6 separate regions of the Homo sapiens genome follow, and all the other regions are linked to region 1. The links are contacts of gene promoters, found by promoter capture Hi-C in blood cells and fetal thymus (Javierre and others, 2016). All regions are on one chromosome and are shown on one strand. The core of a region is centred on a gene start or on the middle of the fragment in contact, and the rest is flanking DNA. Distances in the headings are between cores, read along the strand shown.

Region 1 (3,637 bases), core at 710-3,209:
ACTTTAAATCACTTTGAATAAGGAACTACACTTTTTTTTTTGCCTTGGTATTTCCCTTCTTAAAACAGAAACAGAAAACTTAATTCCTACCTGACACAGACAACATAAGGAAGAATTTGTTTGTGGACTGCTTTGAGATTCCAGAACCAAATACATAATCCAGTTGATCTTCAACCCTACAATAAAGACAAACTTCACTAAACATAATTGCTTCAGCAGATGCCTTCAAAATAAGATACTATACCATTATTTATGGAAAGAGAAGTTTTATTTAAGCCAAATCTTGATCACAATGCAATGGAGGAAAAAAATTACAAAACCGTTTAGAAAGTTCTTCTGCTCAATTAAAAAATTTAATACTTCTCACGTATGTCTCCTATAAGCACACTAATTCTAAAGGTAGCAGAAATTGTATGCATTTATTAGAGAACAGAGACTCTCAGGAAAATTATGCAATCAATTGCAATAGCAAATGTATAAAACAAATTAATAATACATTTTAAAAAAGAAATTCTGTTAAATTTCATTTAAGATTAGTTCTTGGACAGCTACACCTAATGGAGGACAAGAAAATTTCCAAATTTTAAGTGTATGTTTGTAGGTCAACCTTTAACAAGTCTTAACCCATTATAGTTTCATTTAGTCTGTACTCAAGTTGCTTTCCCAGGCATGCCAGGTAAACATAATTCTTAAAAATTAAAGCTTTAATCAGTAAGTGTAACCGATTTGTTGCTACTGTCACTCTTTTGATGATACTTCCACCAACCGGTAAAGAAAGAAGAAATGTTATTAAACTGGAAGATGAACTAGAAACATTGAGTGGATACCTAGCTTAGGCAGAAAGCAGCAAGGACTAGAAGGGTATGTCACAAAGAAGTCTTCAGAGATTTAATAAAAAGTAAAACAAATGGAATGAAGTTAAGAGGCTTGACTTATACAAATGGGGGGGGGAGGGTGGAAGAGTTTTGGAGGGGAAAAAATTAAGATTAGAGACTCACTGGGTGCAGAATGGAAAAGGACGTGAGGATAGGGGCCATTAGACAGAAAGCGATGAAGCAGGGTACCAGAGGAAAGAGAAGGCAGTGAGGGTTTCCGAAGCTAAGATGGGGCATGGAATGAACTCCAATGCAAAGCGATGCTAAAGCAAAACACAATCGGCAACTAACAAAAAGGGAACCAGGAGGAAGTACCGAAAGGAGGTGGATGAGAGGAAAATAAAACCAAGGAAGAAATTATGGAGGTAACAAGAGTGAGAAACCTGGTCGGCCAGGGTAAGGAGCTCCGGACAGGGAAGAGCCAGGCAAGGGATGGAAGCACAGAGATACGCTGCTTCCCAAGGAGGGACCACCCGGGCAAAAAGACACGTGGGAGGCGCGGGATGAAAAAGCAGAACCACGAAAGCGGGTAAAGGAGGGACAGAGCGACGAAGATGGAGCAGGGGTGAAGGGCAAACACGCTAGGCGCGAGGTTCAGGAAGAACGGGTCGAGGGACGCGCGCAGGGGCAGGGGCGGCCGCGGGCACCGGGAGAGCAGCGCGCCGCGGCCCCTCGCCTCCCTCAGAGCGCTCCGCACCGCCGTCCCCACCGACCTTCAACGGGGCCGGGGCCAGGCTCCGACCGCCAGCAGTCGGGTGAGGGGCCGCGGCGGGCGAACGGCGGACGAAGAGGAGGCCGCTTCCTTCCTGGCCCCTGGGCAAGAGGGACGGAGGGAGGGGTCGTGGGTGTCGGGAGCCGGGGGAGCCAGAGGGGACAGTAAGGGGGTTACCTCTCGCCCGGCTCGGCCTCTTCCCCCGCCTGTCGAACGGAGGAGCTCGTTGTCCAGCTGCAAGAAGACGGCCCGACCCGGGTCAGCACCATCCCGCCCCGGGCCCCCTCACATCGCCATCACAGCAACCGCAAACACCGCAACCGCGGAGCCGGTTCGTCACCGCGGCTCGGCTACTGGCCCAGCGCGGCCAGCGAGCATGCGCAGTCGCCCCAGTCCCGAGGGAGCCCGGGCCAGCCGGCTATACCTGCGATCAACAGGTCCCCGGCCGCACGGCCCCGCCCCCGGCCTCTCTCACCTCCTCCTCCCGCCTCTTCCCTCCCCTCTCTGAGGCTAGGCCCCGCCCCTTCAAGCTCCGTGCCCCGCCCTTCAGGAGCTTCAACTGCCCCTCCAGCTCCAGCGCCAACTGAGATTTCGAGAGATTTGTCCTCCCTACCAGGCTCCCGTTCCCAAGTTCCCGCGAGAACGGGAGGTTTGCGTCAATAAAAGGCGCGCGTCAAGAAAAGGGGCTCGCTTGTGGGTTTAAGGGATGGAACTTGGAGGTGGTTGAAGAGTAGTGAACAAGAAGAGGGCAAAAACACGGAGTTCGAGAACTTTAGCCGTTTTTCTCACAATGTTGTTTCTCCTTTTCTCTCTTTAGCTCCTCCGTGCAGTCCCGGGTAGAGAGCCCGGTCCCTGCGCTAGTCGATTTGTGCAGTAGGAAAGGAGGCTGCAGGGGATCTGCGCCGGGGCAGGACAGATGCCTTTCGGGACCCAGTGTTTGCATCTTGGGAGATGTGGGTGCTGATCTGGTTGTTTCTTGGTTTATGACGCCAAAAAGGGCGGGAGGGGGCTGATGAAGTGAAGCCTTTCGCTAATACATTCCGTTAACAGAAGCCCACGAAGGATCATTGATTTATTTCACTCTTCCCTGTTTCTGAACCTTATCTGGCAAAAACTTTTGTGGTGCATAAAGTTCAGTATGTTGCTAAAGCTGAGTTAATGAAAGGAAAATTTCAGCTGCGACTCTTGTTTTAAAAATGAATCTAGGATGGATAGTGGTGTTGGTTGCACAACAATGAATGGACATAATGCTACTGAACTGTGCACTTAAAAATGGTTAAAATGGTAAATTTTCTGTTATGTATATTTTACCACAATAAGAATGAATTAGAAGGGAAAAGCTTTGTGCATTCATTTGAAAGTAATGGTGAGGTCTTGTAACGTAGGCCATTTAGGGGACAGGTTTTGAATATATCTTTGTACCAGTTTTTTTTTTTTTCGAGTGTGTGTGTGAGACAGAGCATTGCTCCGTCGCCCAGGCGGGAGTGCAGTAATGTGATCTCGGCTCACTGCAACCTCTGCCTCCGGAGTTCAAGCAATTCTCCTGTCTCAGCCTCCCTAGTAGCTGGGACTACAGGCGCACACCACCACGCCTGACTACTTTTTGTATTGTTAGTAGAGACGTGGTCTCACCATATTGGTCAGGCTGGTTTCGAACTCCTGACCTTAGGTGATCCACCCGCCTTGGCCTTCCAAAGTGCTGGGATTACAGGCCTAAGACACCGTGCCTGGCTTGTACCAGTTTTTACATGATTGGGTGTCCTCTTATCCTGTGAACCAATTTATTTGCATTTGTATGAATGGCCTGCTTTCCTGATTTCTAATTTGTCCCTTCTTTTATAGCCCTATACCATTTTACTATCCTTGCTAAACAGGCTTTTATTGCTTGTTTTGTGACTTGAACTTTAGCCTCAAAATTGGAAAGGCTTTTTCTGTTTTTTTTTTAGTTCCAGCCATGTCTTAGGAAAATATAGTAAACAACCAATTATTTGCATTTCCACGTCCGTGCATCCCTAAAACACACAGTGTGCCAAGATTCTTTCCCTGTTCC
Region 2 (3,637 bases), core at 388-2,887, 480 kb before region 1:
GCGTACAATGATTATACCCAGGGAAACCCACTTAAGACTCAAGAGTTCAGGGTTTTTGTTCAGGGCTTGTCACATAGGCACTCTTGCCCACCAATATTTCATATTCCTGAAAGGAAAGCAGTTGTTCAGTGCCCCAGACAGATAAAATAACCTTATAAGGGTAGGAAATGTTTCAAAAGCTGTGTTCCCGGACACTAGCCAAGGGCAAGCCTTGCAAGCAGACCTTTCTAAAGATAAGGCTTTAGATAAAGTCTCAGGCTTGTTAACACTTTTCTGCAGTCACTTATACCTCAGCTTGTTAAAAAAAAAAAAAGTTGTAAAAGTTAGTGTGAGTTAGCACAAGACAGTTGCAGTTCATTTATTGAAAAAATGATAAGAGATTATAAAAAATAGTAACTTTAGATTTGAGGCAGACCAATGCAGTGAGAACCTCATTACCTGGAATGCTTCATACCCTTAAATCCCCTCTTTGGAATTAGCCAGGAGTGTTGGTGGGTGGCTGTAATCGAGCTACTCAGGAGGCTGAGGCAGGAGAATTACTTGAACCCGGGAGGCAGAGATTGCAGTGAGCCAAGATCACACCACTGCACTCCAGCCTGGGCAACAGAGTGAGACTCTGACTCCAAAAAAAAAAAAAAAAAAAAAAAAAAATCCCCTTTTTGGAACAAGGTAGGATAATAATAAGTAAAACCAGGAAGCTTGGCTAATGGGAGCTTCTAATTATTTTTACTCTTTAATATTGTGACTTTCATTTCTATTGTATTTGAAAATCTTTCCAAGGTATATCATTTTTTTCCTTTCATAAAAAATTCCTTGGTTGATGTTCATTATTTAACCACTGGTTAACTGATTATGACCCAGTTCAGTTCTATAGCAAATAAAAGATAAAGCACTGCTGTTGAAATTATAATTACCTCAACAACAAGACCACCTCATGCAGTTGTGCAGGTTATACCTCGTCCAAGGCACACCCAGCTGTGAGGGTGCGTGGAGCTTAAGTCCAGCTTGTACTTTGCCAAGCTATGGGCTCCAGCATGGGGTGTGTCTGCCCGAGAAAGGGGCACCTTTTTCTAGTTTATGCTAAGATGCCTTTTGAGCTGTTCAGCATGAGCCCTGGAAAAAGGTGGTGGTAGCGATTTTCTCCTACAGTGCTGCCTAATATCAGCAAGCTTTCTTGTGGGCATCTCTTTCCCCTTAAAGAAATCCAGCTAGTAACTTTCAGTTGAGCGTCATGTTTAACCAGGATTCCACTGTGTGTAACAAGGACAAGCGATTCCAACGGTCTCTAGTTTGGCCCAATTGCCCTTAAAAGGCAGGCAAATGTTTAGGGTATGTGTTTCTTTTTATCACTCTGGAAGAAGCCAGGTTCAGGTCTGTATCTGGATCCCATTATTAATGTCCCCAGCCAAGAATTCTGTGTATGTATAGCAATAGAAAAGTCAGAGAAAGGACGCTCCTGTGACTTCTCTGAAGTTTTTGTTCTTCCTGAGTAATGAAGTTTCCTAAAGGGGAATTAAACTTTCTCACCTCGGAAGATAGAAGTATTGTTTAAAGATTCAACTTTGAAACAAATAGGAAAATATCTGATAGTTGCAACTTAGCTTCAAATCAGCGATGTCCAGATATTGACAACCATTTTATTTCTCCTAAACCTTGAGCCCTAGCCCAATTTATGACCGAGTAGAGATCATGGCACAGCAGCCAGCCTAACAGATGGGGGCCATACTCTAGCAGCAGAAGGATTCTGTTTTGAAACCTTCAGCTTTTGAAATCTTACACCACTACCAGCCCTACTTCTTCTACATAGATCACATTCATTTCCTCCCTCTTTTTCCTAAGGAAACTTAAAACACATGTCTTTTCCCTTTTTATAGATGCGAACCACCCGCAAGGTCTCCGTCTGGCCTGTGGGCCTGGTTGGTGGGCGGCGCTACGAACGTCCGCTGGTGGAAAACGGCAAAGTTGTTGGCTGGTACACCGGCTGGAGAGCAGACAGGCCTTTTGCCATCGACATGGCAGGTGAGCAGTGTGGGTGATGACATTTGTTCCTGCTGGACTGTTCTTATGCTCTTGTTTATAACGATGCACTAGATGAAGGAAGCTTTAAAAGACAAATTTGGATAAAACCCTACATCATATCATATTCAGGAGATGAAATATTTAAACCTTCAAAATAGGCTCTTTGGTTAGATCAAGTGGAAATTGATTTGGAGGGTGATTAGAAAATGCCCTTTCTGTTCCATTTTGTCCCCTGTCTGTGCCTTTATCCCACAAGCGTCTACATGGCAGCTACTGGGTTGGCCACTGGGGATTCGGTGGTGAGAGCTAGACCTGGCTCCTGCCTTCCAGGGGTCTGTTAGCTGGAACCTTTTGACTCCCTTTTCTAGAAGACTGATATATTAAAATATATCATGTTTATTGATAAATTTAACAATGATATAAAAATTGACAAGTCATTTTAATGCTTATTGATAGGTTTAGTGCTTTATTGATATATTTAATACTAAAATATAAACTTAGATTTCTGGTATTTCAAGAATTTATTGAGTATAACTGTCTTAAAGTTTTTATTCCCTGAACAACCAACTGAATTGAATTAGCCCTGCAGTAGGACCACACGTTCTAAAATGCTACTTTATCATAAAACAACTCATTTTCTATGGGTTATAGAAAATGATGCCTGTGATAACTGTGGAAGGATGGAGTTTGAAACATGAGGCTCAGAGGCAAAAAAAAAAAAAATTCGGTGACATCTATACTCTTAAAAATGAAGGCAGAAAGGCTTCAAAATTGATCTCATCAATCTTGAGCTCTGAAGCACAGCTCTGTCGGGCTGCCAGCCTGTGCTTGCCCCATCTTCTGTGCATATTTCCCAGCCGTAGTCAAGATCTCCGCGTTCAGAATTCTGATGGGATGGAGGCTGTCTTCTGAACTGGATTCATCACTTTTATTCTGACAATACTATAAATCTGAGGGAGCCAGAGGACGAAGAATACCAGGAGTCATCTGAGGGGCACAGCGCTCATGGACAGCTGTGTGGTGGGTCTTGTCACATGGCATCGTGGGAGAGGACAAATAGGAGATTTTTACTCAACATTTAACACACATCTCCACAGCACCAGCCCTCAGCCAGGCCATGTCTCAGGCCCCTGACCTCTCCATCCCTCTGTTACTCCAGCTGTTTGCTTTGGTCTTCAGTTCTTGCAGCTCCAGAACTGAGCTGGCATCTCAGTCTAGGTCTCCACCTGGAGGCAGAAGGAGAGGCAGCTGAGCCATCTTGGACGGTCCTGAGGACCCTCGAAAGAGGCCTGCCCTCGACCCGCTCAGAGTGCATGGCCCTGAAAACATGGGGCATAGTGTATCTTTTGAAAATCGGGCTTCTTGCTGACCAGAAGTGTACCTTAGAGCAGAAAATTTAGACAACATTAGGGAAAGTCCTTCTGCTTCTCTGGGATGTAGTTTTCTTGTGTAAAGTGAGGCAGCTGCCGGAGATGACCACCAGGGCCCTCCAGTGCAGCCCTCCTTTCCTGGCCTCCCACCTTGGAACTCTCAAGTAAGAGCCCAAGCTTGGGCTTCTAAGTGAGGATTGTGACTGCTCAAGCAGCCGCAGACAGACTTTTGCTTCAGATTTTCCCAG
Region 3 (3,637 bases), core at 779-3,278, 450 kb before region 1:
TGGCCCAGTCTGGCATCTGGAGAGGATGGTGGTTGTGGTGTTTTCACAGCTCCTCCATTACCACCTGGTATCATTTAGTATTACTTTGCAAACTGAATCATAAATCAACTCATTTAATGTAGAGAAGGGCAAAAGTTGCTGAGAAATGTTTTGTGGGTTGGTGCCCGGAGCTTCAACTCTGGGAGGGTGCCTGACTTGACAGTATCACCTTAGTCACTAAGGAAAAAGAGATCCAGGGCTTCAGACCTTCAAAACAATTATTACTTGCTGAGATGGCAAAAACAATTGTAGAGTGCTTCAATGGCTGAGCTTTAAACAGTTTGTTAAACTACAGATTAAATACGAATGATTCTTTTTTCTTTGAGACAGGGCCTCATTCTGTTGCCCAGGCTGGAGTTGCAGTGGCACAGTCATAGCTCACAGCAGCCACAACCTCATAGGCTCAGGCAATCCTCCCACCTCAGCCTCCTAAGTAGCTGGGACTACAGGCACGCACCACGTGCCACAACACCCAGCTAATTTTTGTATTTTTTGTAGAGACAGGGTCTCATTATGCTGCCCAGGCTGGTCTTGAACTCCTGGGCTCAAGAGATCCTTCTGCCTTGGCCTCCCAAAGTGCTGAGATTACAGATGTGAGACACTGTGCCCAGCCAGTAATGATTTTTCGTATGACCAAACCATTGAAGAAAATTTACACTTATTTTTGGTAAATGAAATACCAAAAAAAAACTTTATCAGATGATGGCCTGATATCTCCTGCACTGATTTCTGCCCCACATACCCTTTTTAGATTGAACCAAATTAGAAATATAAACCAGATGATTAAAAATTAGGTATGATTCATTTTCCAGCTAATCGGCTTTACTTCTGTTGCTCCCTCTTCTAAATGCAAAATGAATCCAAGCAGTGCTGGATTTAAGGAAGCATACATAATTAATATTACAGGGCAGGCAGGAGAGCTGGGCATGTGGTCTCATACCCCACATGTAGTTAGGTAAGCATGTATGTTTTTCAGCTGCATTTATTTCTTAGTTATTCCTAGTGGCAAATGTGGGGGGTTGATGATCACTGTGAAACAGCAGCTTATAAAATTCACCCTTTATTATCAACAGACTAAACTTCCTATTTTGCGTAGATGCTCCTGTGCACGCCTTTATTTTACACGGAATGTAAAATATTGTAATGACTGATTTTCCTTTGAGACTGTAATACAGGTAATGTTCCTATTCAACTTTGTAAACCAAGACCTGACACACAGTAGGTATTTTAAAAACTGTTTTGATGTGACCAAAATTATACAGAAAAAAAGAGAAGTACACCAGGATTTTAAAGTCTCTTTTTTTTTTTTATTTTTCACAAAGGATTTGCTGTAAGTCTTCAAGTCATTTTGTCCAATCCAAAAGCTGTATTTAAGCGTCGTGGATCCCAGCCAGGGATGCAAGAATCTGACTTTCTCAAACAGATAACAACAGTCGAAGAACTGGAACCGAAAGCAAATAACTGCACTAAGGTATTCATTACACTTGTGCTGCCCGACCTCGAGTGTCACCATGAAGAGTGCGCTACCCAAGCTATTTCCTTCCCCTTCAGGTTCTCGTGTGGCACACTCGGACAGAGAAGGTTAATCTAGCCAACGAGCCAAAGTACCACCTGGACACAGTGAAAATTGAGGTATAAATTGAAGCAGCAACTGGTGCAGTTTGTCCAGCCAGTGGATCCATATGGAAGAGGATGTTTGGAGTTTAGGCTACAGAGCATTCAGGTATTGTTTGTTTTACTTCAGTACAGCAGCCTTTCTTGTCATCTGATGGACATCTGTTTAAATGGAGCTTGTCAGTTAACATAAGCTAATTGGATGGTTGGTACAAAATGTATGTTTTGTCTTCATTTGTTCTGCATGTTTTCTCTACAACAACTAAATTGGAAGATTTTTTTGTACAGTGCCGATACTGCAAGATACCACTCTTGAGTATATATTTTTTCTTTTTCTCCAATTTGCCCTTATAATTGGTAGACTTGAACAGGTTGGTAGACTTGAACAGGTTTTTAAAACAGACAAGTATTTTGTCAGCTAAACGTTCCTGATGATTCCTGACTTTGCAATACTAAGTAATTTTTGGAAGGTTAGTGGCAGTATACATCATAGGAAATAAAAACCCACAAATGAAAAGGTCTATGGAGTCATGTTTAATGTAGGGAAATAACATTTTGTCAATACTAGGCACCATAAAATGTAAACACAATTACTGTCATAAACCTAGATATACCTTCAAGGATTGAAGATTGAAAGTGGCTTTGTTTTAGTTAGTTACCCTGTTTGCATATAGTGCAGAAAAAGGTCTTCATGTTAGCACTATGTACATTAAGAAGAGATCCAAATTACAAGAGAGGCAGATAAAATTTGAATTCTTTAAGCATTCATTAAACGAAGTTTTGGAGTAACATCCACGTTTATCTTCCTTTCACTAATCACGTTCCCTGTTAAGCACATCATAACAACAGCACAGTGAAGTGAATGATGAAATAAGAGCATTTTGATACACTAGAAAACAGTGCTCAGTGAGACATTTACATTCTATTTATATGATTAAACATTTGATCATACAGTACCTTCCTACAGGATTACTGGCTAATTTTGGGGTGGGGTTTATACTATTAGAGGTATTACTAACATGATAACTACTTCCCTTATATGCAAACATTAGAGCTATAATTTTATTGAGAGGAAAACTGATTTTGCAAGTTGAGCAGCTTCTCAAATAATGCAGTACATGAAATCATGGGAAATATGAGCAAAGCTGCCCTTGACATAAAATGATTTATCAACCTGCTTTTCACCACATCAAATTGAATCAGTACAGACCAACACGGTCAATCAGATCATTCTTAATATGAACAAATGGGTAAAAAGAAAAAAAATATGCATATGAATAAACAGGGGAACTAGATGCGTTTCAGCAAGGAATGTCAGGTGGTAGTTCTGGATGAAACTTGTATTGCAGTTTTCATTTCCACAGTTGTGTGCTGAGAGTCTGACCTGATGAGCTTCCAGACCATCCTGCTGTTGTGCTGGAGGGCTGGCCAAAACCTGCAGTAGGGGTTGCACTACTGATACTCATGCCAGCCATCTGCTGATTCATCTGTGAAACATATAAAAGGCTTAGTTCAAGAGGCTTACTTCACTTTTAATTCTTGTTTCTTTAGCCACACAGTTGGTCATTTTTTCATTAATGTGACAACTAGTCCAAGCACTGGAATAAAAACAGAGTACCATACAAATATTTCTTAAAGCAAATAGCTACTTTGTTCCCTTCTTTATCTACTTTCTAGATACAGTTTCCCCAAAGATTAACCACAACTTACTTAAAAAAAAATACCAAAGCAATCTTGGGATTTTAATGAGTCCGCTACTCTAACTAACTTTCACCTACACTAGGATATTGTGCTTTAACTACTAAGGAGTAAGAAAATTTTAGGAAGTAAAATAGTCTAAAATTATCCTATAAACTTTGTATGATAGATATTATTCTCTATTAAAATCTTATATACTTCCTAAATATTTTTAAAGTGGTCATAAAGCATTTATTTCTCTCGCTGATCTAACAACATAAACATCTAAAATTTATTTTCATTGTAT
Region 4 (3,637 bases), core at 610-3,109, 410 kb before region 1:
AGCAGGTTCCTACAATGAAGATTTAAAAAAAAAAAAAAACCCTTGGGCTCTGGCAGGGGGAACTGAAAAATAACTACGGTTGGCTCTCTATCTGTGGGTTCCACATGCATGAATTCAACCAACCACAGATTATAAATATCCAAAATAAATAAAAATAAAAAATAATACAACAAAAAATACAAATTAAAAAACAGCCTAACAATCTGCATAACATTTACATTGTATTATGTATTATAAGTAATCTATATATTATTTAAAGTATATGGGAGGATGTACATAGGTTAGACACAAATATGACACTTTATATAAGGGACTTGAGCATTTGTGGATTATGGTATCTGCAGGGGGTCCTAGAACCAATGCCCCATGAATACCAACAGACAACTGTATTTTGAAATATGATGGAACATTCTGTTCTTTTTAACAAGGCCTGCCCTGAAGAGAAACTATTTTACCAGAGCCTGACCTGCTAGGAGTTTTATTAGAGCTTAACCTACCTAGAGGAAGGAAAATACCCAATTCTACTCCCCTCCAGCCATCCTGTCTCACCTAAGGGGTGCAGGATAGAGGCACTTGTGAAGTATATAACATAGGGGCACAGGCTCATTAAAGGACTGAGACCTAATCACAGGATTATAGAACACTTCCCCTCCCCCGAAATATTAATAAAGTCCTATTTATCTGAGTTCCTTTCACCCACTACATCATGTCTAGCTTTCATTAAAACATTACAAACATACTAAAAGGTAAAAAACACAGTTTGAAGAGAAAGATCAAGCATCATAGCCATACTCAATTATGGCAGATATGTTGGAATTATCAGACCATGAATTTAAAGCAGCTATCATTAGTATGCTAAGGGCTCTAATGGAAAAAGTAGACAATATGCAAGAATAGATAGGTAATATAAAGAGAGATGAAAATTCTAAGAAAGATTAAAAAAGAAATAAAGAGATCAGAATTGAAGAACGCTTTTGGTGGGCTCATTAGGAGACTGGACACAGCTGAGGGAAGAATCTCTGTGCTTGAGGATACATCAATACAAACTTCCAAAACAGAAAAGCAAAGGAAAAAAAAAACACTGAAGAAATGGAAAAGAATATCCAAGAACTGTGGGACAACTAAAAAAGTGTAACATACATGTAATGGAAATACCAGATGGAGAAGAAGGAACTGAACGTAAGAAATATCTGAAACAGTATGACAGAATTTCCCCAAAATTAATGTTGGATACAAAACCACACATCCAGGAAGCTCAGAGAACACCAACTAAGATAAAAGGCCAAAAAATTATACCCAAGTACATCATGTTCAAACTGCAGAAAATCAAAGATACAGAGTTGAGGTCCTTTGCCCTTACCTTTTCTTGCTTCTTTCCTTCCCATTCCTATTTTTGGATGTTATAGAAATAGACTGAAAAGCCATATAGCATATTGGTTAAGGATACATATTCTGAAGGCAGACTGATCATATTCAATTCTCAGCACAGCCACTACTCAATAGCTGTGTGACCATGAATAAATTGCCAAACTTCTGTCTCTCAGGTTCTCATCATAAAGGAGAATAATAATGGTATCAACCTGATATAACTATTGTGAGGACTACGAAATAATATATTTAAAGAGCTTAGAACAATGCCTCACAAACATTAAGCACAAAGTATGTGCTTGCTATTTTTATTACCTTCAATGACCCATCTAATCTAATTGTTGACCCTTTCACCTGGGCTGCAACATTCTTAAGTATAAGCTTTAACTTAGTAAAACTACCCTCTATCAAAGTGTATATATTCAGGAAGTATTTTCCTAATTTTCTATTTCAGGAAATTTCTAATTTACTAAGAAGAACTGTAAAGCATGCATGCTTAGTGAACAAAAGCCTTTCTTTCATTAACTAGGAAATGAAAGCTCTGCACATAAAGTAATTGGATTTCTTCCCTTTTTATTGCCTCACTTGCAATAAAGCTTCAAATGATTGCAAAAACATTTTAGAAATTCCATGAAGAAAAAAATGTTTTCAATTTACTACAAGCCTGTAATAGAACCTAAAATATGGTTTTCTGCTACAACCTACACATTCTTTATCATCACAGTTACTTTGATAATAAGCAAGTGTTAAAAAGCTATTACATCTCTGGCGGGTTTCTTCTTCTAGGCTTGCGGGCATTGTAGTAAATGGTTATTTAACTAACAAAATAAAGTTACTATCATCTTGCTATTGCTTTCTGTTAAGTAATAATTCTTATTTTAGGTATTCAATTCGCTCTTTTTAAAACTAGGTAAAACAAAACAGTAAGAACAGAGCAAACCATCTTGGCTGAAAGAGCTTTCTTCACGTAGTAGTCAATATTTTTTCAGGCTAATTAAATTTACTCATTTAAAGATAACCTCTCAACTGCCAGGAAATTCTGTACTCTTGATTAGCACAGAATAAGAAAAAGATTAGTTTCTATACTCACTAGGATATTTTTCTTCATGACAATGCCATATATTTATAAGAATGTTCATAGCAGCTTTACTCATTGAAGTCCTAAGCCAGAAACGACTCAAATGTCCACTAACAGCAGAATAAAAAAAAAAGTATGGCATATGTAGACAGACAATAGAAGAATGTTCAGCAATAAGAAATGAGAATGCAATGACATAAATGAATCTCACAGACGCAATGATCAGCAAAAGAATCCATACAGAGGAAGAGTTGCATGGTATGATTACATTTACATGAAACTCAAAAACAGACAAAACTTAATCTTGTTGATATAAATCTAAATAGTGATTCAAAGTTTTTAATAATCCTCTTAATTTTTCTCTTTAAAAACAGGACATCTTGAGAAAATGGGGCAGGGAGGGGGGGAAATCCTAACAGGAACTTCAAGTGCTACCTAGAGTGATATCTACTAAGGAAAAGGATACAGAAATCAAACTTTAGACTTTACAAGGTCTAAATCCAGCAGCTATTGATTATTCCCTTGAACCACTGTTACTGTTTGTATTAATTAGTTTATTTACGTATGATAGTTTGGCCTACTTAAAAATAAGAGTCGAAAAGCAAACTTCTAAATAATGCTTATTATAAAAAAGCAAATCAACACACTCTGCAAAATTAAATGGGAAAAAATAACCAAAAAAATCTGCTAGACTGTCTTAGATGGAAGTTCTCTCTCACTTGATCAAATTATCTTGAACAATAAAGTTTTCTTTTTTTTTTTTTTCCGAGATGGAGTCTCACTCTTAGCCCAGGCTGGAGTGCAGTGGCACGATCTCGGTTCACTACAACCTCAGCCTCCTGGGTTCCAGCAATTCCCCTGCTTCAGCCTCCTGAGTAGCTGGGATTACAGGCACCTGCTACCACACCCAGCTAATTTTTTGTATTTTTAGTAGAGACGGGGTTTCATTAGCCAGGATGGTCTCGATCTCCTGACCTCATGATCCGCCCGCCTCGGCCTCCCAAAGTGCTGGGACTACAGGCGTGAGCCATTGCACCCGGCCTAAATAATAAAGTTTTCATAATATTTCTCTAGTCTCTGTATCAAGGCATACCATAGTTATCACAATCAAATTAAAGAGTTTCCTTTTCTTTTTTAATTAAAAAGCTCATAACATCAATTATGACTATTACCTATAGAAAAATGACATGA
Region 5 (3,637 bases), core at 466-2,965, 320 kb before region 1:
TAGGTGACAGAGCAAAATTCCATCACAAAAACAACAAACAAAAAATACATTTCCAACAAGGACAATAGCACAACCAAAACAAAACAAAAGAACACACTATCAGATTGTTTCAGCAGAAAGAACTGTCTGGTACAGCCAAAGCTATTTGTTGTAAAGCATCTGAAGTAAGGTCAAAGACAAATGATGAAGCCAGAAGGCAGAGGAACATGAAGACCAGTTTAATGAAAATAAAAAGTTTTATGAGTCTCACAGAAGAATCAATGCAAATTTCTTAGGATGGAAGTAAAATAACCAAAGCAATGTTCTAGGAAAATTACTCTGAATGCACTGTGTAAAACAAATGGAGATGTGACACTGATGAGAACATCAGAAATAAGGCAAAGCCTTGGACTTGTCGGAGAAATGAAACTAGAAAGCAGCAGAAGCAAGAAAAGAATTAAGAACACAGAAGTAAAAGGGAGAAAGGAGTAAGAACCATAGAATATACAAGTTTTTAAGAGTAACTGGAACAATGACATTAACTTTCTTTCCAAACAGCTCATTATTTCAATTTTAGTTTGTCAAGCTGCAAGTAGAATAAAGACATCTACTAATCTTAATATTTACAAATGCTAAACATTAATAACTATCACTATAGACCAAATTTCCATACTGAAACAATTTCATAAATCCTTGTTTCCTGTATCCATATGGCATATACAGGGATTTGTTTGATACTGCTATAAAACAACAGTTAATTCTGGTATTCCATTCTTTACTCCACCCAAATGTATAATATCTTGGGTGGGGGGAGGGGAAGGAAGCTATAGTATTTATAAAAGTATAAAAAACTTGGTCCTTTCCAAAAATTTGAGAAGTACGTGACAATAAACCCAAGACCAAACACAATTAATCTGACCATGAACCACATTAAAAGAACTTTTAAGACTTTTTTACAGTGAGTAACTTTATTTCTATGTTATTAAAAATCAAAGTAAGTTTTGGGTAACAACTATTTTCTTTTAAAAATAAGCATACAGCAATTCTAACAGCTGTACATGTTGTGCTCTAAAAACTGAAACACATAACATATACATAAATAACAGATAAAAATATGGTACATATAATATCAGTTTATAAGTAACCTTGAGGAAAAACTTAGTATTTACATTTTACAGAATTATACACACACACACACACAAAGAACATTTTTATTTAACAGCTTGACTGGGCTCAAAGATTAAATCATGTTTCCATATTTACTAATAAAAGGTATTTTTAAAAAAATAGAGCTAGCCAAAACAGTATCATCTTTGAAAATTAGAAACACAATTATGAAATGTTGCAGGGAAAGACAAAGGGTATAACTATGTAACTATGTACAGTAAAAGTATTTCTCTTAGTTCCATAAATAAATACCTCCCAAGTACTTCTTTTTTAGGCTGAGTCTCACTCTATAACTCATGGCGGAGTGCAGTGGCAGGATCTTGGCTTACTGCAAGCTCCACCTGCCAGGCTCAAGTGATTCTCCCACCTCACTTTCCAGAGTAGCTGGGACTACGGGTGTGTGTTACCACACCCTGCTAATTTTCGTATTTTTAGTAGAGACGGGGCTTCGTAATGTTGGCCAGGCTGGTCTCAAACTCTCGGATCTGCCCACTTTGGCCACCCAAAGTTCTGGGATTACAGGAGTGAGCCACCGCTCCTGGCCTCAAGCACTTTTTATATCAAAGAAATTATTATAAAATATCATATGAATATGGAACATTATATCACATTGTGATCATCACTTTTGCCCATCTGAATTAAACGTCAAAGTTAATAGGAACAGCCTCCAAAAAGACAGACATTTTAATGTATAGCAAAACTAACCCAATGGGATAGAAATCAGTGTAGTGTATGCCCCTGGGGGACTTGACTGGAAATTGGCATGAAGGAACTTTCTAGTGTGACAGAAATGCTCTATCTTCACTGGGGTATTGGTGACATCATACAGACATTTGCCAAGACTCATAAAACTAAATGAGATCTGTGAACTGTTCTCTCTGTAATTATAAGTCAAGTTTTTTCTTTTTTTGGTTTTATACGTTTATTTTCAGAGTAAAACAATTACACAATTTAAACCCAGGTCTAACAGAATTACTCTGCCAAAGTCAGCAATAATGCCAAAATGCATTCTCACTTCCAGACACTCACCAGTATCATCTGAGTCTTCTCCCAGTGAAGCAAAAGGGTCTGATATTTTATTCATATACATCTCTCTTATCTGCAATATAATCTACAATTTCTTGTGGACATATTAACTTTTCCATATCTATACCAGGAATTTCAAACCCAAATTTATCTTCCATGACCATGCTTACTCTCTACTTGGTCCAAACTGTCCAAGCACAGGTCTTTCATAAAGTAAGAATTCACTGAGAGCTTCTCTGGGTCAATCCTGTCACAGGGTTTCAAGATATAAAGAAGACAGTCTTCGATTCCCTCTAACATCAAAGGGGGCAAGTCACTATACTGACAGCACGACTGTGTAACTTCTACCCAGCACGTGCGCAAGCACCAAAGCCCGCTGTGGAGCCAGCTGCAAAGCCCCAGCCTCATCAGAGTCCCCACAGAGCACAGGCGATGCTGAGCAGCAGGCTGTGGCCAGCACGGGACCCGGTGCATCAGTGTGATGGCCAAGGGCAGGTGGCAGACACAAGCTGCCATGGCTACCCCGACCAGGATTTCCTACCTCAATTTTTTAAAAAGAAACACAGGAGACCGGGTCCAGTGGCTCATGCCTGTAGTCCCAGCACTTTGGGGGGCCAAGGTGGGCAGATCACTTGAGGTCAGGAGTTCGAGACCAGCCTGGCCAACATGGCAAAACCCCACCTCTAATAAAAATACAAAAATTAGCAACACATGGTGGCACGCACCTGTAATCCCAGCTACTTGGGAGGCTGAGGCAGGAGAATCGCTTGAACCCAGGAGACAAACGCTGCAGTGAGCAGACATCACACCACTGCACTCCAGCCTGAGCAATAGCATGAGTGAGACTCCGTCTCAAAAAAAAAAAGATGGGAAGAGCAGGGGAGGGGGGCCAGACAGAGCAATTCCTATCAAGAAGTTGGCAAATGCAATCAAATAATGTTCAAATACAATTTCAAATATTATTATTTAATAACTGTTTTTAAAATCCTTACATTGTAAAAAAAAAAAAATCCAATATATTGCCATGTACTTGTAACCTATGCCAAAGAAAACCAGTGAACTGCAGCCCTCTGATTACAAAATTCTACTCTAAGCTATACAGCTGCCCATCTCAAATAATTTGCTATTCATTTCCTCTCAACAACCTAATTGAGAAAAATATTTCTGAATAACTGAACTGTTGAAGGATCTCGTGTTTTATCCTTAGTTTGAAATAAGCCATTAAAAAAGCAGGATACTTCGGTCGTGAATGCTTTGTACCTCCATAACCCATTACAAACACCAAGTTATACTGTCAAGCTACACCTCACACGTTTCTTGAAAAAGAGTTACAACATCAGCTGGGCATGGTGGTGCATGCCTATAGTCACAGCTACTTGGAAGGCTGACATGGGAGAATCGCTTGAGTCCAAGAGTTTGAGACCAGCCTGGGCAACATAGCAAGACCCTGTCTCAAACAAACAAA
Region 6 (3,637 bases), core at 1,138-3,637, 300 kb before region 1:
CCCATTTTCAACAATAGATAGGACATCCAGACAAAAAAATTAATAAAGAAACGGGGCTTGAACAACACTACACACCAAATAAACTTGACAAGCCTATACAGAACGTTCTACTCAACAGAAGAATATACATTCTTTTCAAGTGTACATAAAATATTTTCCAGGACAGATCACATTAGGTCACAAAACAAGTCTAAACAAATTTAAGAAGTTCAAAATAATATCATCAAATACCTTGTCCAACAACAATGGAATTGAACTAGATAACAAGAAGAACATGGAAAATTCACAAATACTAAATAACGCACTATTGAACAACCACTAGGTCAAACAGTAAGTCAAAAGAGAATTTTTTAAATATCTCAGGATAAACAAAAACAAAAAGAGAACAAACCAAAACTTACGTGATACAGCAAAAGCAGTAATAAGAGGAAATTTTGTAGTGATAAATGTCTGCATTAAAAAAAATCTCAAAATAAACAACCTAACTATACACCTCAAGGAGCTAGAATAAGAACAGACTTAACCCAAAGTTAGCAGAAGAAAGAAAGTAAAAAAACACAGATAAATCAAATAAAGCATAGAAAAACCACAGGAAAAAAAATCAACAAAACTAAGAGTTGGTTGTTGAGAAAATAAAACTGACAAACTCCCAGGTAGTCTAAGAGAAAGAGAGAGAAGACTAAAAATCAGAAATGAAAGAGGAAGCATTACAAAGGATGTCTCTGAAATATAAAAAAATCACAGGATGGGTGCAGTGGCTCACACCTGTAATTCCAGCACTTTGGGAGGCCGAGGTGGGTGGATCATTTGAGGTCAGGAGTTCAAGACCAGCCTGACCAACATGGTGAAACCCCATCTCTACTAAAAATACAAAAAATGAGCCAGGTGTGGTGGCACATGCCTGTAATCTCAGCTACTCAGGAGGCTGAGGAAAGAATCACTTGAACCCGGAAGGCAGAGGTTGCAGTGAACCATGATTGTGCCACTGCACTCCAGCCTAGGTGACAGAGTGAGATTCTGTCTCAAAAAAAAAAAAAAGAAAAGAAAAAAAGAAAAAAGAAAAGAAAAGAAAAGCAATAAAAAAAAATAAGGAACTACTTATAAACAACTAGGTGCCAATAAATTGAATAACCTAAAGGAAACAGATAAATTCCTAGGAACATAAAACCTATCAAGACTGAATCAAGAAGAAACAGAATTTCCTCAACAGTCAAATTACAAATAGAGATGAAAGAAGTAATCAATAACCTCTCAACAAAGAAAAATCCAGGACCAGATGGCTTCACAGCTAAATTCTACCAAACACTCAAAGAAGAATTAACACCAATCCTTCTTGAAGTTTTCCAAAAAATAAGTAGAGGGAGTATTTCCAAACTCATAGTATGAAGCCAGTATCACCCTCAGGGTAGTACCAAAGCTGGACAAAGATGCCACAAGGAAAGAAAGCTGTAAGCCAATATCTCTGATGAGCACACATTCAAAAATCTTCAGTAAAATACCAGCAAACCAAATTCAACAACACATTAAAAAGATAATACACTTTGACCAAGTGGGATTTTCCTCTGGGATATAAGGTTGGCTTAACATACACAAATCAATCAAGGTGATTACCCCTCATTAACAGAATGAATGATACAAGCCACATGATCATCTCAATAAATGAACAAAAAAGCATTTGACAAAAGTTCCACATCTTTTCATAATAAAAACTTTCGACAGAATAAGTATAGAAGGAAACTTCCTCAACATAATAAAGGCCATTTATGAAAAACTCAAAGCAAACATAATAATCTGTGGGGGAGAAACTGAAAGCTTTTCTTCCAAGATCTGGTACAAGGAAAGGATATCTATTCTCACCACTTCTATTGAACACAGAATTGGAAATATTAGCAAGAGCAATCCTACAAAAGACATAAACAGCATCCAAATCAGAAAGGAAAAGGTAAAATTATCCTCATTTGCAGATGACGTAATCCTTTATGTAGAAAATACTAATGACTCCATTAAAAATATATACATATTAGGCCAGGTGCGGGTCCCAGCATTTTGAGAGGACGAGGCAGGTGGATCACCTGAGGTCAGGAGTTCGAGACCAGCCTGGCCAACATAGTGAAACCCCATCTCTACTAAAAACACAAAAATTAGCCGGGCATGGTGGCAGGCGCCTGTAATCCCAGATACTCAGGAGGCTAAGGCAGAAGAATCGCTTGAACCTGGGAGGCGGAGGTCACAGTGAGCAGAGATCGCGCCAATGCACTCCAGCCTGGGTGACAAGAGTGAAACTCTGTCTCAAAAAAGAAAAAAAAAAAAAAGAGCTAATAAATTAATTCAGTAAAGTAAAACACAAAATCAACATACAAAAATCAGCTGCATTTATTTATACCAATAGTGATCGATCTGAAAGAGAAAACACAACAAAAGGAATAAAATACAGTCAGGCTCTGCATAATGACCTTTCAATCAATGACAGACCACATTTACAGTAACAGTTCCATGAGATTATTATGGAAATAAAAAATTCCTATTGCCTAGAGACATTGTAATTATTGTGACATCGTAGCACAACAAATTACTAACATGTCTGTGATAATGCTGGTGTAAATAAACCTATTGCACTGCCAGCTGAATAAAAGTATAGCACACACAATTATGTACTTGATAATAAATGACTATGGTACTGGTTTATGTATTTACTATACTTTTTACTGTTATTTTAGAATGTACTCCTTCTACTTATTAAAAAAAGTTAACTGTAAAATAGCCTCAGGTAGGCCCTTCAGGAGGTATTCCAGAAGACAGCATTATTATTATAGGAAATGACAGCTCCATGTGTGTTATTGCCCTTGAAGACCTTCCATGGGATAGGATGTGAAGGTGAAAGAGGGATACTGAAAATCCTGAACCTGTGGAGTCCTAGGCTAATATGGGTGTTCGTGTCTTAGTTTTGAACAAAAAAAGCTTAAAAAGTAAAAAAGCAATAATAATAATAGACAAAAGCTTATAGAATAAGGATATAAAGAAAATGCCTTGTATAGCTGTACAACGTGTGTCTTAAACTGTTATTACAAAAGAGTCAAGAAGTTTAAAAAATTTTTGAAGTTTTTAGATAATAAAAAGTTACAGTAAGCTAAGGTTAATTTATCAAGAAATTTTTAATATCAATTTATTCTAGCCTAAGTGTACAGTGTTTACAAAGCCTACAGTAATGTCTTACACCTTCACATTCATTCACTATTCACTCACTGACTTACCCAGAGCAACTGCCAATTCTGCAAGCTCCAATCATGGTAAGTGCCCTATATGTGTATGCCGTTTACCCTTTTTTTTTTTTTTTTTTTTTTTGAGATGGGAGTCTCGCTCTGTCACCAGGCTGGAGTGTGCAGTGACGCAATCTCGGCTCACTGCAACCTACGCAATCTCGGGTTCAAGCGATTCTCCTGCCTCAGCCTCCCGAGCAGCTGGGACTACGGGTGCATGCCACCATGTCCAGCTAATTTTTGTATTTTTAGTAGAGATGGGGTTTCACCATGTTGGCCAGGATGGTCTCTATCTCTTGACCTCATGATCCGCCCACCTCAGCCTTCCAAAGTGCTGGGATTACAGGCGTGAGCTACCACACCCAGCCTGTTTTTTATCT

The links. Contacts are between HindIII fragments. The CHiCAGO score rates a contact against its expected background, and 5 or more counts as called.
Region 2: a fragment that was not itself captured here is called in contact with the fragment with the promoter of FAM135A in region 1 in 2 of 17 cell types (fetal thymus and total CD8 T cells); the score reaches 5.6 in fetal thymus.
Region 3: a contact is called between a fragment that was not itself captured here and the fragment with the promoter of FAM135A in region 1, in 2 of 17 cell types (fetal thymus and total CD4 T cells). The highest score is 7.2, in fetal thymus.
Region 4: a contact is called between a fragment that was not itself captured here and the fragment with the promoter of FAM135A in region 1, in 2 of 17 cell types (fetal thymus and total CD8 T cells). The highest score is 7.6, in fetal thymus.
Region 5: a contact is called between a fragment that was not itself captured here and the fragment with the promoter of FAM135A in region 1, in 2 of 17 cell types (total CD4 T cells and activated CD4 T cells). The highest score is 5.8, in total CD4 T cells.
Region 6: a contact is called between a fragment that was not itself captured here and the fragment with the promoter of FAM135A in region 1, in 3 of 17 cell types (activated CD4 T cells, fetal thymus and naive CD4 T cells). The highest score is 6.3, in activated CD4 T cells.

The regions. Positions count from the first base shown.
Region 1 is chr6:70,411,830-70,415,466 of GRCh38, reverse strand. It overlaps FAM135A (family with sequence similarity 135 member A), which reads right to left and starts at 1,959. Exons shown (of 22, transcript NM_001162529.3): 1 at 1,765-1,959; 2 at 91-176. FAM135A-AS1 (FAM135A antisense RNA 1) reads left to right here and starts at 1,509. Exons shown (of 2, transcript NR_147708.1): 1 at 1,509-1,630; 2 at 2,405-2,639. RefSeq lists silencers at 1,443-1,592, 1,933-2,152. The HindIII fragment of the contact is 2,225 bases long and covers 705-2,929 here.
Region 2 is chr6:70,892,510-70,896,146 of GRCh38, reverse strand. B3GAT2 (beta-1,3-glucuronyltransferase 2) reads left to right here. Exons shown (of 4, transcript NM_080742.3): 2 at 1,875-2,019. The region is part of intron 2 of LOC105377850 (a long non-coding RNA gene); the gene reads right to left. Among named protein-coding and RNA genes, the nearest start is that of B3GAT2, 63 kb to the left of the region's middle. The HindIII fragment of the contact is 932 bases long and covers 1,172-2,103 here.
Region 3 is chr6:70,859,703-70,863,339 of GRCh38, reverse strand. SMAP1 (small ArfGAP 1) reads right to left here. Exons shown (of 11, transcript NM_001044305.3): 11 at 1,337-3,140. The coding sequence ends at 3,006. It overlaps B3GAT2 (beta-1,3-glucuronyltransferase 2), which reads left to right. Exons shown (of 4, transcript NM_080742.3): 3 at 1,362-1,510; 4 at 1,591-3,637. The coding sequence ends at 1,677. Among named protein-coding and RNA genes, the nearest start is that of B3GAT2, 96 kb to the left of the region's middle. The HindIII fragment of the contact is 5,480 bases long and covers 1-3,637 here.
Region 4 is chr6:70,820,281-70,823,917 of GRCh38, reverse strand. The region is part of intron 6 of SMAP1 (small ArfGAP 1); the gene reads right to left. Among named protein-coding and RNA genes, the nearest start is that of B3GAT2, 130 kb to the left of the region's middle. The HindIII fragment of the contact is 215 bases long and covers 1,752-1,966 here.
Region 5 is chr6:70,733,549-70,737,185 of GRCh38, reverse strand. The region is part of intron 2 of SMAP1 (small ArfGAP 1); the gene reads right to left. It also overlaps the pseudogene NDUFAB1P1. Among named protein-coding and RNA genes, the nearest start is that of SMAP1, 67 kb to the right of the region's middle. The HindIII fragment of the contact is 6,398 bases long and covers 1-3,637 here.
Region 6 is chr6:70,710,199-70,713,835 of GRCh38, reverse strand. All of the region lies in intron 1 of SMAP1 (small ArfGAP 1), which reads right to left. Among named protein-coding and RNA genes, the nearest start is that of SMAP1, 44 kb to the right of the region's middle. RefSeq lists an enhancer at 589-638. The HindIII fragment of the contact is 1,146 bases long and covers 1,815-2,960 here.